2 separate regions of the Homo sapiens genome follow, and region 2 is linked to region 1. The links are contacts of gene promoters, found by promoter capture Hi-C in blood cells and fetal thymus (Javierre and others, 2016). All regions are on one chromosome and are shown on one strand. Each heading gives the region's core, a stretch centred on a gene start or on the middle of the fragment in contact. The rest is flanking DNA. Distances are from core to core; before and after follow the strand shown. Region 1 holds the start of LRRC8D (leucine rich repeat containing 8 VRAC subunit D). Region 2 has its middle 4.4 kb from the start of LMO4.

Region 1 (6,257 bases), core at 1,688-4,187:
TTGTGGTTAAGTTTTTCACGAACTAGGTTCCCTCTACCCTCCTTTATTAGTCGTATATTCTGTTCCACATCCCTGACCACTGTCAAAAGTCAATTCAGATTTCCACTCCTCCCTCAGCATACTTCATAAACTTTTATCTGGTTCCACACACCCTGGATTCTTAGACAACTGTAACTGTCTGCTTCTGCTGGCATCCTCATGTGTGCCTGTCTTATCTGCTCTCTGTGATTACTACGAGAATCCTCTCCTGCCTTGTTAAGATCCCACAGCACCCACTCCAGTTCTCTGCTTCCTGCTGGCACTCAACAAATATTAACTGGTGTTTCTTAGAATGTCAAACACCAGCTCCAATTAAAAATAACTGAAATCTCTTACAAGCTACCACTTCAACAACATAATAATCATGATTACAAAGTTTTGACAAACTTTTGACTTTAATAGCTATTTTGTCTACAGTACTGAGAACAGAATCGAGTCTAATTTCCAAACTATAGCTACCAAAACAATTTAACTATTTGGACATGACAAACACATCAGAATTTTCTAAAATTAATTTTTAAAAATGCTGCATAATATAAAAATTAAGGGAAAAGGGGCCTAGTTTTTTTCTTTTTTCTTTCCATTAAACTTTAGCGATTTTGAGAAAAAAAGGGCCAAGTTTTGACCATGTTTTTTAAATGCTGGAAAACACAGCAGGGAGAAAATGATATGAATATGGCTCAATACTTTAAGTGTTGCATCATATGCTACTCCACATGGTAATGGAAGGCTGGGTCATCTAAGGACAGTTTCCTCTCCAACCTTCTAATCTGTTAGGTTTTAATCAACACGCACACATACACTCTCAATAAAAACGAGACAAATCTAACATAGTGTTCAAATATATAAATAAACTGTGCCAATTCAAGATTTTGGAATTTTTCCCTGGCTCCATAGATTACCTAATCATTTTATGGGGGGCTCCATAAGTAACCTACAGAGACCAAACACCCCAAATCAACTTTTCGTGACCCCTGTTTTAACCACCTAATTTTCATCTCAGATTCCTCCCCATCTTGCACTTGGATTTTAACAGGGATTTAGTTAGTTGGTGTCAAGACAGATGAAGCAAGAACCCCAACTCTCGCCTAGCTGACAGTAGGTGTTTGGTCACTATTTTTGGACTGCAAAAATAAATGCTGCCTGAGGACCCCATTTACAGGATATGGTGCAGGGTTCTTCCCACAGGTCTGTAAGAAGCAGAGGTCCCAGATGCTATGGCGAGGAAGGTCTGATCACTCTCATTCTTGGCACTGGGAGGGGCCCCTTATTTGTTTATAAGGTAGACAGCCCTCATCATTACTGCAAACGGGGATTCCCTGCCTGTCCAGACTCTTCCAAAGTCCGGTACAAACCACGTAATAGGTGCTCAATAAACGCTGCCTGTACGGAATTTTACTATCAAAGCTGCCAAGGAAAGTTTCCAGAAATCAGCTCTTCCAAAATATGTCCTCAGAGTTTTCTTTGTCCAACAAAAAAATATTTTTGAAGATCCAAGAGCAGGAAATCTGCGAGGCAACGAGGAGCCAAATATAAGCCAAGCGGCTCCAGCTGGGCCCCACATTCCGCTAGGACTCCCCAGTACCTATTCCCCATCTCTCCGCCTACATCCTGAGTGCGCCCTCCCTCTCATCTCGGCTGTTTCCTTCCCACAACCCTACCTCCATACTTTCGGCCACACACACCCCAAGTGCGTGCTCCTGGAACCTCACAGCCCACCTCTCCCTCTCCAGCAAGGACCTACCTCTCTTCCCCTCGACCTGCAGCAGTTCTTCTTCACTGCAGCTGGCTTTTTAAGAAATCAAAAAATCTCATTTATCTGCAAGGGATACCCCCTAGTAAAGGGTGACGGAAAGGAGAAGGCCCCTATCAACCCTCCAGTAACTGGAGGTGCTGGTCCTCCCGGCAACCACCCCCAATTCTCCTCCTTTTCAAGCCCCTGGACAGGATTTGAGCAGAAGTCCCGCTCCCAAGAGCCCACGCCTCCAAACAAGCTAGAAGCGGATTATACCGGTACCCAACCCGGAGACGGCCCGCGGACGGCTGGGTGCACCTGCGGGCCCCCAGCTCCCTCCCACAGGCGCGGGGGGCGGGGCGCGGGCCTTCACCTCCCCGCCCCCGCCCGCCGGGCTCCCAGCGCAGCCCACCCTGCACAGGAAGGAAGCGGAGGGGAGGCGATTCTGGAGAAGTTAAAGGGCTCACCTTTGGACGCCGGGCCAGCAAGGCCAGACACCAAACACCCACCTCCGGGAGGAACCAGCAGAGCCGAAACCGGCTCTCCCCGCCTTTCCGATAGGGCGGAGGGAGGTGAGAGAAGGGAGCGCGCGCGAGGGGTTCAGGAGCCAGGAAGCCGCACTCCCCTCCCGCAGGGCCGGCCGCCCGGGGCCGAAGCGGCCGACGCTCAGACTGCAGAAAGCGGAACAATCTCCCAGGCCCTGGCGGCAGCAAACGGGAGCCCACTCCGCTCGCCGCCACCTCCTCCCGACCCCCGGACGTCCCCGAATGAGTTCCCGGCCGCAACCGCAGCTCGGGCCGCGGCGCCTGCGCCAGGGTTGCGCGCTCCGGCTCGGCGCGGCTCCACCTGCGCGTCGCCTTCCCTCGCAGCCCCCGGCCCCTGCCGGGAGAGGTGCGCACCAACCTTGGGGTGCAGCTCGGCCGCCAAGCCACGGCTTATGCTGAGGCCGGAGGTGGCGGCATCACCCGCGGCGGGCGGCGGCTGCACCGGGACGCGCCGGGGCGGCGAAGGCGCGCTGCACCCTGGACCCTGCTCCCGCGGCCCCGCCCGCGGCTGCCACCTCGAAGCGCGGCGGAGGAGCCGGGGCACCACGGGCGGCGGCAGCGGCAGCGGCAGCAGCGGCGACGGGAGCAGCAGCACATGACTCTGTAACGAGGGGAATTAGACAAAGCGTAACATGGACTCCGGGCCCGTGCAGGCGCTGCAGCTCTGGGACCAACCGCAGCCGGCGAGTGCCGCGACTGGCCCGGCCGCAGCCAATGGGGCGGGCCCGGGCCTCCATGTGATTGCGAGCGCTTTCTCCGGTGGCCCTGCAGCGCCTGACCGGACGGGGTCTGTGTGGCGAGGGAGGGGACCCGGGGTTGGAGACTGGCGGCGAGCGACTGCTAGATGCGGAGCAGGTGCTTGGGAGGGGAAGAACGGCAGCCTACATAACCATCGCCGTAATGCTCTCGCAAGCGTCCACCTGGGCAGGGCTCGGTGCCGGGCAGGCGCAGCTGCCAGTTAGCTGCGAGGCATGGTCAGGAGCCTTCACCCGTCCTGGGCGAAGGAGGCTGTCCCGTCGACTAAAACTCTGATATTAAGACTTGGCGCTGGGGGTGGGGAGTTGAATTACGTTAAAAAGTCACTTAAGTGCCTTCCAACTCTAAGGAGAAGTACTTATCTGAGCTTTGGGGCACACACAACTACTACTTGGCATGGAGAGTTTCTCAGCTTCATGTGTTCCGTCTGTTATTGAAGCTGTATTGGAAAGTCGGTTCTTGTTTTTATCTGAGCCCGCCGTTTTCATCCCATTCTTTTCGTCAAAAATATGTTACATCTGAAAGAGGCAGATGAAAAGATTATTCTATGCTAAGAGGGTTTTGCAGCCCGATAATGTCACCGTTTTTTGTTGTTGTTGTTGTAGGATCGGGGTTCATTTGCAGTCTTTTTTGTGGGTGAGCAGAGGCAGGGGCCAATAAATAAATTAAGGCGGGATATTTGGAGTTATTTGGTTGTAATAAAATATGTGGTTCAACCCAGTGCTTTCATATCTTCTTTTATCTGAATCCATGTGTTTCTGTAAACCATCGGAAGTCTAATCTGTCTTCTACCAATATCTCTCCATGTCAGCAAATGTTCAATCAACGTTTACCCAGCATCTAAATATTCTTAATAAGCATGCTGCACAAATGTTACAGGTACTCAGGAAGGTGTCGGTTCAGAGACAGTGAGACATTAAAGAGAATGATTGTCCAGGGTTTCAGAAAAGGATTCAGAGAGGAGCTGATAGAATTGACCCTTGGATGGTGAGCACTTGGCCCTCAGGCATTGGACGTGAAGAAGAGCAGCCCAAACAGGAACATGAACAGAGAGGTCCAGAATACACTCAAGGGACTGCCCGAGACCCGTTACAAGATGCCACCAGATTCTGAGCCCTCGGCCCTTTTGCTCTCACTTTCCTTCCCCGACCCTCCTTGCCAGCAGCCACTCCTGTTCCACACACTGCCAAGAAGGAGGTGTATGGGCAGGGAGTGTGTGTAAGTGATCTAATCAGTGTCAGATTTGCTGATCTAAGAGATGAGAGGTCTTTTAAAACTTAACAACTAGTGGTGTGATATTTTTATTGAAAACAGCCCACTATTATAATGAATATGGAATGTTTTGCTGTTTGTAAAAAAAAAAAAAAATTATAGGCCGGGTGCAGTGGCTCACGCCTGTAGTCCCGGTACCTTGGGAGGCCGAGGCAAGAGGATCACGAGGTCAGGAGTTAGAGACCAGCCTGACCAACATGGTGAAAACCCGTCTCTACTAAAGACACAAAAATTATCTGGGCATGTTGGCACGCACCTGTAATCCAAGCTACTCAGGAGCCTGAGGCAGGAGAATCGCTTGAACCTGGGAGGCGGAGGTTGCAGTGAGCTGAGATGGTGCCACCACACTCCAGCCTGGGCGACAGAGTGAGACTCCATCTCAAAACCAAAAAACCAAAAAAACCAATCTTCTGTACTTTGTTCTTTTGATCTTCCCTGGGTTTTAAATTGTGATTCTAGACTTGAAAAACATGATTTTAAGATTGGTATAAATCGAGAAAAGAAAAAAGTGATATTCAGAAAACAGTCAAATGTGGAGAAATAGACACTCACACACTGTAAAAGTAAGAGGAAATTGGACAAACCCCTTTGGAGGACAATTTGGAAATTTTTGATAAATAGGTGTGTTCCCTTTGAATAGGTAAGTCCATGTCTAAGAGTTTGTGCTTTAAGCATATTTGTGCAAAAATTATGTCAGAAATATTTACACATGTACAAAAATATATATATACGTGTCTTATTGCAACATTGTTTGTAATAGTGGGAACATGTAATGGTGTAAAAATCAAATAATAAAGTCCCAGTAGGAAACTGTTTAAGCAAATTTTGCTAGATCTGTAGAAGGAAACCATAAGCAGCCATTAACAAAAATAAGCTAGATCTATTTGTACCTACATGGAAGGATGTCCAAAATCTATAAGTGAAAAAAAAGGAGGCTGCAGAACAATATGAATAGTATGATTCCATTTTTTTGTACTTTTTTGCATTAAGATATACATGTTATTAAATGTATGCTTCAGAAGAAGTCTGGAAGCATATATAACAAGCTGTTAATGGTGATTATCTCTGGGTGTGGGATTACTAGGGCCTTTCATCAAGTTCTGTATGTTTGAATTGTTTTTATATTGAGCACATATTACTCTGATAATCAGAATAATAATTTTAAAAATTTAAAGGATTGTTTTAGAGTATATTCAGGCTATTATAACAAAATACCATAAGCTGGGTGGCTTATAAGCAACAGAAATTGGCTGGGCATGGTGGCTTATGCCTGTAATCCCAGCACTTTGGGAGACCTAGGCTGGAGGATCACCTGAGGTCAGGAGTTCGAGACCAGCCTGGCCAACATGGTGGAACCCTGTCTCTACTAAAAATAAAAAAATTAGCTATGAGTGGTGGCAGGCACCTGTAATCCCAGCTACTCGGGAGGCTGAGGCAGGAGAATCACTTGAACCCAGGAGGTGGAGGTTGCAATCAGCCAAGATCATGCCAGTGCACTCCAGCCTGGGTGACAGAGTGAGGCTCTGTCTCAAAAAAAAAAAAAAAAAAATTTTTATTTCCTATAGTCTGGGGGCTAGGAAGTTCAAGGCAACAGCAGATTCCACGTCTGTGTGTGTGTGTGTCTTCTTTCTAGTTCAGAGAGGGTGACTTCTTGCTGTGTCTTCATATAGTGGAAGGAGTGAGGGTCTCTCTCAGGCCTCCTTTTTAAGGCCACTAATCCCATTCATGAAGGCTCTGCCATCATGACCTAATCGCCTCCCAAAGGAATGACCTCCTAATACCATCAGTTTAGGGGTTAGGATTTCAACATATAAAATGGAGGGGCGGGGGACGCAATATTCAGACTATAGCATGGATCAAACTAGTAAGAAGTCTACCAATGATAAGTAATGAAAAATAACTCTGATTAT
Region 2 (5,885 bases), core at 1,887-4,386, 2.5 Mb after region 1:
CCAGACTGAGGCTAATATTAGGCCTGATTATTGTTAGTAAGTTCCAGAGAGATTTTTCTGGTGGAAATTATCATGAAAGTGCAAAGCCCTTCTGCTAAGTATCATTAAGTAAAACCAGCCTTGTGGGGCAAGTTTTCATATTGTGTTACACACAGTACTGCTAGATTGAGGAAAGGAACCTGAAGGAGAATCTGGCGAGACAATGCAGATGTTGAACATTTAGGGTTTTAGTGTCTATTTGGGGGATTTCTGTCTTTCAAACCATCAAAATTAATAAGGCTGCATAAGAAAGAATAATTATTGCCCATACAGTCAGGTAGAGGGCATTTTAAATATCAATTCAAATACTCATTTTTTAATTCTAGCACCTTAAAATTAAATGAATTAATTTTATTGATTTGTATTTAAAGTTGCACTGCTATGATGAATTCACCTTGTGCACATATAAAAAACTTTTTTTAAAAAAAAGTCATTAAAACTATAATAGTAATTAAAATGTCCTACACAGAAAACAGCTACAGATGGGCATGATTAAAGAGGACCAACTTAGAAAAGATGTAATGCTGCTTGAAGGTTAGTCAAGAAAACTCAATTAAACCAGATGAGGAGAGGAACACCATAAACAAATAATACATTTGAATCCCCTGGTTCATTTTCACTTTTTAAATAATTTATAATAAAAGGAGATGACACAAGATCTTAGTGGGCTACAATTAAGTTATGATTTGTCATGTGCAAGTAAATTTCCGTCTCTGGGCCTTAATTTTCTCATCCACAAATGAGAGAATTAAGCCAAATGGTCTTTATTTTTTCTTTTTAAAAATGATTTTCTTAGATAGAGCACATAATGCATAGATGTATAACGAATTGTGGTACTTTTCAGGATTTTTCCTGAAGAATATGCACTAAAACGAAATCTTAATTCCTGAAGGAAATGTTAGAAATTTAACCAGACACATGTTCAGCTATCATTGAGTGATTATCCAGAGGATCCCGGTGGTGTTTGTGGAAGGAAGGAGAGTGAGATGGATAAAACTTTGAATAACAGAGCTCTAGGCTACAGGGCCTACATTTTAGGAGGTGGTTTTAGTGCTTCAGCTCTAATTCTGTGCGGAGTGAGGTCTTTAAACATGTCCTGGTAGATTGGAGTGGATGGGAGTGTATTACCAGAGAGCTTTATTTGCTGATGTGTGTTTATAGAAATACAAAAGCGATAATGGCTAACAGTCTCTCTTCTGAGAGGTAGGGAGTAAATACATTCACTGTAATCAAAATTCAGGTGTACTTTTACCACAGCGCCACCTCTGGGTAATCTTTATTTCTGCATTCTTTGCGTTTAGCAGTCCTTTCTCATCCTGATTTGTGGTCTGAAAATGCCTGGTTGAGTGGGTAGCAACGTCAATCTTTTATTTCCACTGATGCGAAACACAAAAACCTTGTAAACACACACAAATTCAGTATGGGTAAAGAAATTCTGTATTCGGATATTCTTCAAACAAATATTAAAAACAGTGCATAAAGTAATATTCCTGGTATGAAGTAAAATTGCCTAACTCGAAATAATGTTATATTGTGCCCCACAGTTGACGAAACCTCTGCTGATATCACACATTCATCATTCATCCTACTCATCTGCAATGAGATATAAGATTAGGGGGCTTTGGAAAAGAAAGATAAATGTAAATCGTTTCTTTCTTGAATCCTAATTAAATGTGGGAACCATACTGCTCCTAGATCAAGCCGTCATTTTCTCCACTTGCCCCAAAATTATTTGTTCATAGCTTCCTTTCTCGTTTATGTCCTTCAATCATAATCATTCTTTTCTCCAAGTGACAGTTCGCTAAGAATCTCCCATGGACAGCCAGAGGTTCTACACAGACCTATGCAGCCTTTAATGTCTGGAGAAAGTCTAGGCTATTTGATGCTGATATGACCTCCAAGACAACATGCCCCAGCTCTTTCTCAGGAAAAAATATTCTGTCCTTTTAAAGTCAATGCAAAACCGTTTTTGAAGAAAGTCTTTTTAGGAAGGAAAATTTTTAAAAATCTGCTCAACTTTATTGCTGCCATCACAGAGATCCCTTGATATTCAGTTTCCTCCAACGTGAATACAAAAAGCTTGAGTCTAGGACAACAATTCCAGAGTGTAAAAGGTGTGGAGAGAAAAGGGAACAGTAGTTACCAACAGAAAAAACCCAAGGAAGAGGAAGGGCAGGTTAGGTCCTGGGCCAGTTTTCTGTGGTGGCGTTGTCGTCTGAGCAGCAGGGTGTATGGCACAGTAAGTATAGTCGGACCTGCTGCTTCATTTAAGAATAGGAGTTTACAGGCCCAGTGGCCCACGCCTATAATCCCTGCACTTTGGGAGGCCGAGGCAGGTGAATCCCTTGAGTTCAAGACCATCCTGGGCACCATGGCAAAACTCCATCTCTACTAAAAATACAAAACTTTAGCTGGGTGTGGTGACATGTGCCTGTAGTCCCAGCTGCTGGGGATGCTGAGGTGGGAGGATCACCTGAGCCCTGGAAGTTGAGGCTGCAGTGAGCCATGATTGTGCCACAGCACTCTAACCTGGGAAATGGGAGTGAGGCCCTGTCGCAAAATAATAATAATAATAAGAGTTTACCTAGAACTCAACATCTCGAAAAGCCTATATTTCACGGAACCATATCTTGGCTTTAAAATATTGATAATATTTAATAATACTTTGAATTTACTGACTGCCTTTTTAGTCTTTCTCAAAATTCTTTATAAATATCTCACTAAATGTTTCATGTGATAAATGTTTCTAATAATTGCCTTATTAGAATATTATTGTTTGTTTTTTGTTAAAGCAATCCAGATGACTACGTTGGGTAAGTATCCCACCAAATTATGTTAATCAATATTTAGGAAGTTCTACCCTAACTACTCTTTTTAAGGTAATAAACAAGCATAGTGAAGAAGTTGATTTTATGGCAAGAAAATAACAGATCACTGAGGAAAAGGAAACAGCATTGACATTGTTGTGACTGGAAATATAATTTAAGATGTAGATTTTGATTTTAATTATTCTATTTGATTAAGGTATTTGAAACTCCTAGAGTTGATAGAAAGGTGAAAAAGATAATAGGAAAGAAGAAAACACCTCTGTGACCCAGCATTTTGCCTGATGTAGCAAGGCTACTTTAAAATAGTGTCGTGAAATTACTCATTGTCTTCGTAAAAGTTTATTAGCATAGCAACAGAACAGTACAAATCCCCCAAATTTGCCTCAGAACTATCAGCAAATCTTTTTTTTTTCTTTTTTTTTTGAGACAAGGTCTTGGATGGGTCACAGGCTAAAGGCTCACTGCAGCCTCAAACTTTGAGCTCAAGCCATCCTCCCACCTCCTTAGCCCCCTCACCCCTACCCCAGTAGCTGGGACTGCAGGTGCATACCACCACGCCCAGCTAATTTTTTTTGGTAGAGACAGGGGTCTCACTGGTTGCCCAGGCTAGTCTTGAACTCCTGGCCTCTGGGGATCCTCCCACCTCAGCCTCTCAAAGTGCTGGGATGACAGATGTGAGCCATTGTGCTCAGCCCAGCAAATCTTGATATGTGAATCTGTTTCATGGCAATGATACCATAGAAAAAATTGTTTGGCTTACTCATACTACCTATTTCTAAGCCTGAATTCTGTCAACAATATTCAATCACAGTGATATTCTGCATCTATCATTGCAAATAAATTATCAGACTATATGTGTGAGTGTATTATATGTTCATTAAGGTCTTTTAAATGGTCTAGTGGGTCAATAGCTACTGCTTATTAAAGTCAAGTCTTTGCATGGATAGATTTAATTTCATAATAGTTACAAAAGAGGGTATATAGATGACTGGGCCACTTGTATATATGTGAGGTGGTTATTACTAAGAATATATGTTGAAGTTATAAATCCAGCAGAAAATAGCAATTCTGTTTAAAATTAATTACTGTTTCTCTCCAAGACGATGGAAATGAGCACTTACTGATAGAGAAACTAAGGCATTAAGATGTAATTCGTTCTCCCTTATGTTCCCACTAACTCTTCTTGGTAAAAGAAAGGCTACTAATTCAGAAATTTTAAGGGCCCAAAACCATAATTTCTTTTGTTAGTGTCAGTTTTAATTCTAGTGTTGATATAATTAAGCTTTTTCTCTGTGTGGATTTGTAATAAGATGTATTTTAAAGTATAACATTGGTTTCTATTTGTTCACTAAAAAAGTTGATGAAAATATGATAATATTTATTCATCCAATTGTAATGAATGACTCTGTTGGAATTATGGAAGTACAATCCATAGCTGTCCTTGGACTTGGAAAGCACGCATTTCTTCTCTATACAGCACCATAAATTTTTTAGAATAAAAAGAACAACCAGATATGGATTTTTTTAAATAATAAAATTGAATAACTCAATTGACTAAAATGTGTTCCCACCACACAGAGGTACACATTATAACATCATCATTTATATTTCTCAACATAAATCAAATTTCATAATAAAATTGTTTTTGATGAATCACCACTTCTTTTCTAGCTTCAAAACATTCTGACAGAGAAAGCAAATTTGTCAATTTCTCTGTGTGATAAGAAATCACTGAAAATATATTTAAGACCTTTAGTCTAAGATAATAATTTTTTTGAAAGTTTCATTTAAAAGGAAAACATTCAAGGGAAGCCATTTTCAAATTTGGAGAAATAACTGAAGAATAAAATAGACTTTCTTTTCAGCATTTTTTTTCAATGCCATCTGCTATACTCTCTGACAATAAGGCCAGGAGAAGTCATTACAGAACAATACTCTGGAAACAATTTGCCTCAAAAAAGAATGAAAACTTAAACAACACTACCTTCATACATGTTTGCTCTAATTACAGCATTAAAACACCCAAGCATTGTCCCCAGATGCCTCTCTCTGTCCTCTTTTTATTGCTTTTCTCCACTGAGATAACATTTAACACTGCATTGAAATTCCTACTTACTGCTTGTGTCCAGTAGTAAATCCTAGCACATTATTAGAATATCTGCCTGTTATCAGCTCCGTCAGGGAATGAATTATTGACTATAACTCATTGCTGGGAAGACTACGCATGACACTCCAGTGAAGTTTTGATAATTTCTAGAAGTCATGGTAATTTATGGAAGGGGGTTTTGATTGATCTCCCACCACCTATTTTGCACCTATCAGTAAATAGGACACATATTGATGGCCTACTTGAACTCCATTAACAATATGGGGGAATTCACAACTTAAGCATTTCTCTTTTTTCTAGTGTGATTTCTATTAAGACGGTCACTCAGTTTCTATTAATTTTCATCTGTGTGGTTTACTCCTGAGAGGGAGGAATCACAGATCTCAACTATTGAATGCATAACATCACTATTCTACTAATGATTTAGATATAGTTTTCATTTGTAGTTATACCAGCGTCTGCCTTTTGGAAAGAAAGCCCTAAGATCATTGGAACAGATAGAGGTGGAGCAGAACAAATACTGAAAGATTTTAAAAGGTCTCTTCAAGTGTTGTAATACAGCTGATAGAATAAAAGAGAATTTTTTTGAATTAATGGATAGTAGGCAAGTTCATTATTATTTGGGAAAAAGTTTATAATATATTTGATATAAAATGTACAGATACCATTTAATGTGTTATGACTATCACTTTAAAGTTCATTTGCCAGAACGTTAAATAACAATCATCACCAATCACAACTCTCTTTCAGTTTTAGGTTTATTTTCCTCCTGTCTCATTTTTGCTGGGTTTCTCCAAATTCAATTATTTCTCAGGGTAAACTCTACTAGACAAATGTTCCTTTTATTTCCTTACTGAGTTTTCATCATTGTGATTTCATTATTGTTTTATTTACTACAACAATTGCTTTCT

What was found. The method cuts DNA at HindIII sites, captures the fragments that hold promoters and counts their contacts. A CHiCAGO score of 5 or more calls a contact.
Region 2: a contact is called between a fragment that was not itself captured here and the fragment with the promoter of LRRC8D in region 1, in 1 of 17 cell types (neutrophils). The highest score is 6.0, in neutrophils.

Annotation. Positions count from the first base shown.
Region 1 is chr1:89,817,712-89,823,968 of GRCh38, reverse strand. It overlaps LRRC8D (leucine rich repeat containing 8 VRAC subunit D), which reads right to left and starts at 2,937. Exons shown (of 3, transcript NM_001134479.2): 1 at 2,678-2,937. LRRC8D-DT (LRRC8D divergent transcript) reads left to right here and starts at 2,175. Exons shown (of 1, transcript NR_185885.1): 1 at 2,175-3,795. RefSeq lists silencers at 1,968-2,187, 2,059-2,268, 2,359-2,458, 2,559-2,908, 3,349-3,408. The HindIII fragment of the contact is 10,555 bases long and covers 1-6,257 here.
Region 2 is chr1:87,321,574-87,327,458 of GRCh38, reverse strand. No RefSeq gene overlaps it. Among named protein-coding and RNA genes, the nearest start is that of LMO4, 4.4 kb to the left of the region's middle. RefSeq lists a silencer at 1,347-1,396. The HindIII fragment of the contact is 2,031 bases long and covers 2,121-4,151 here.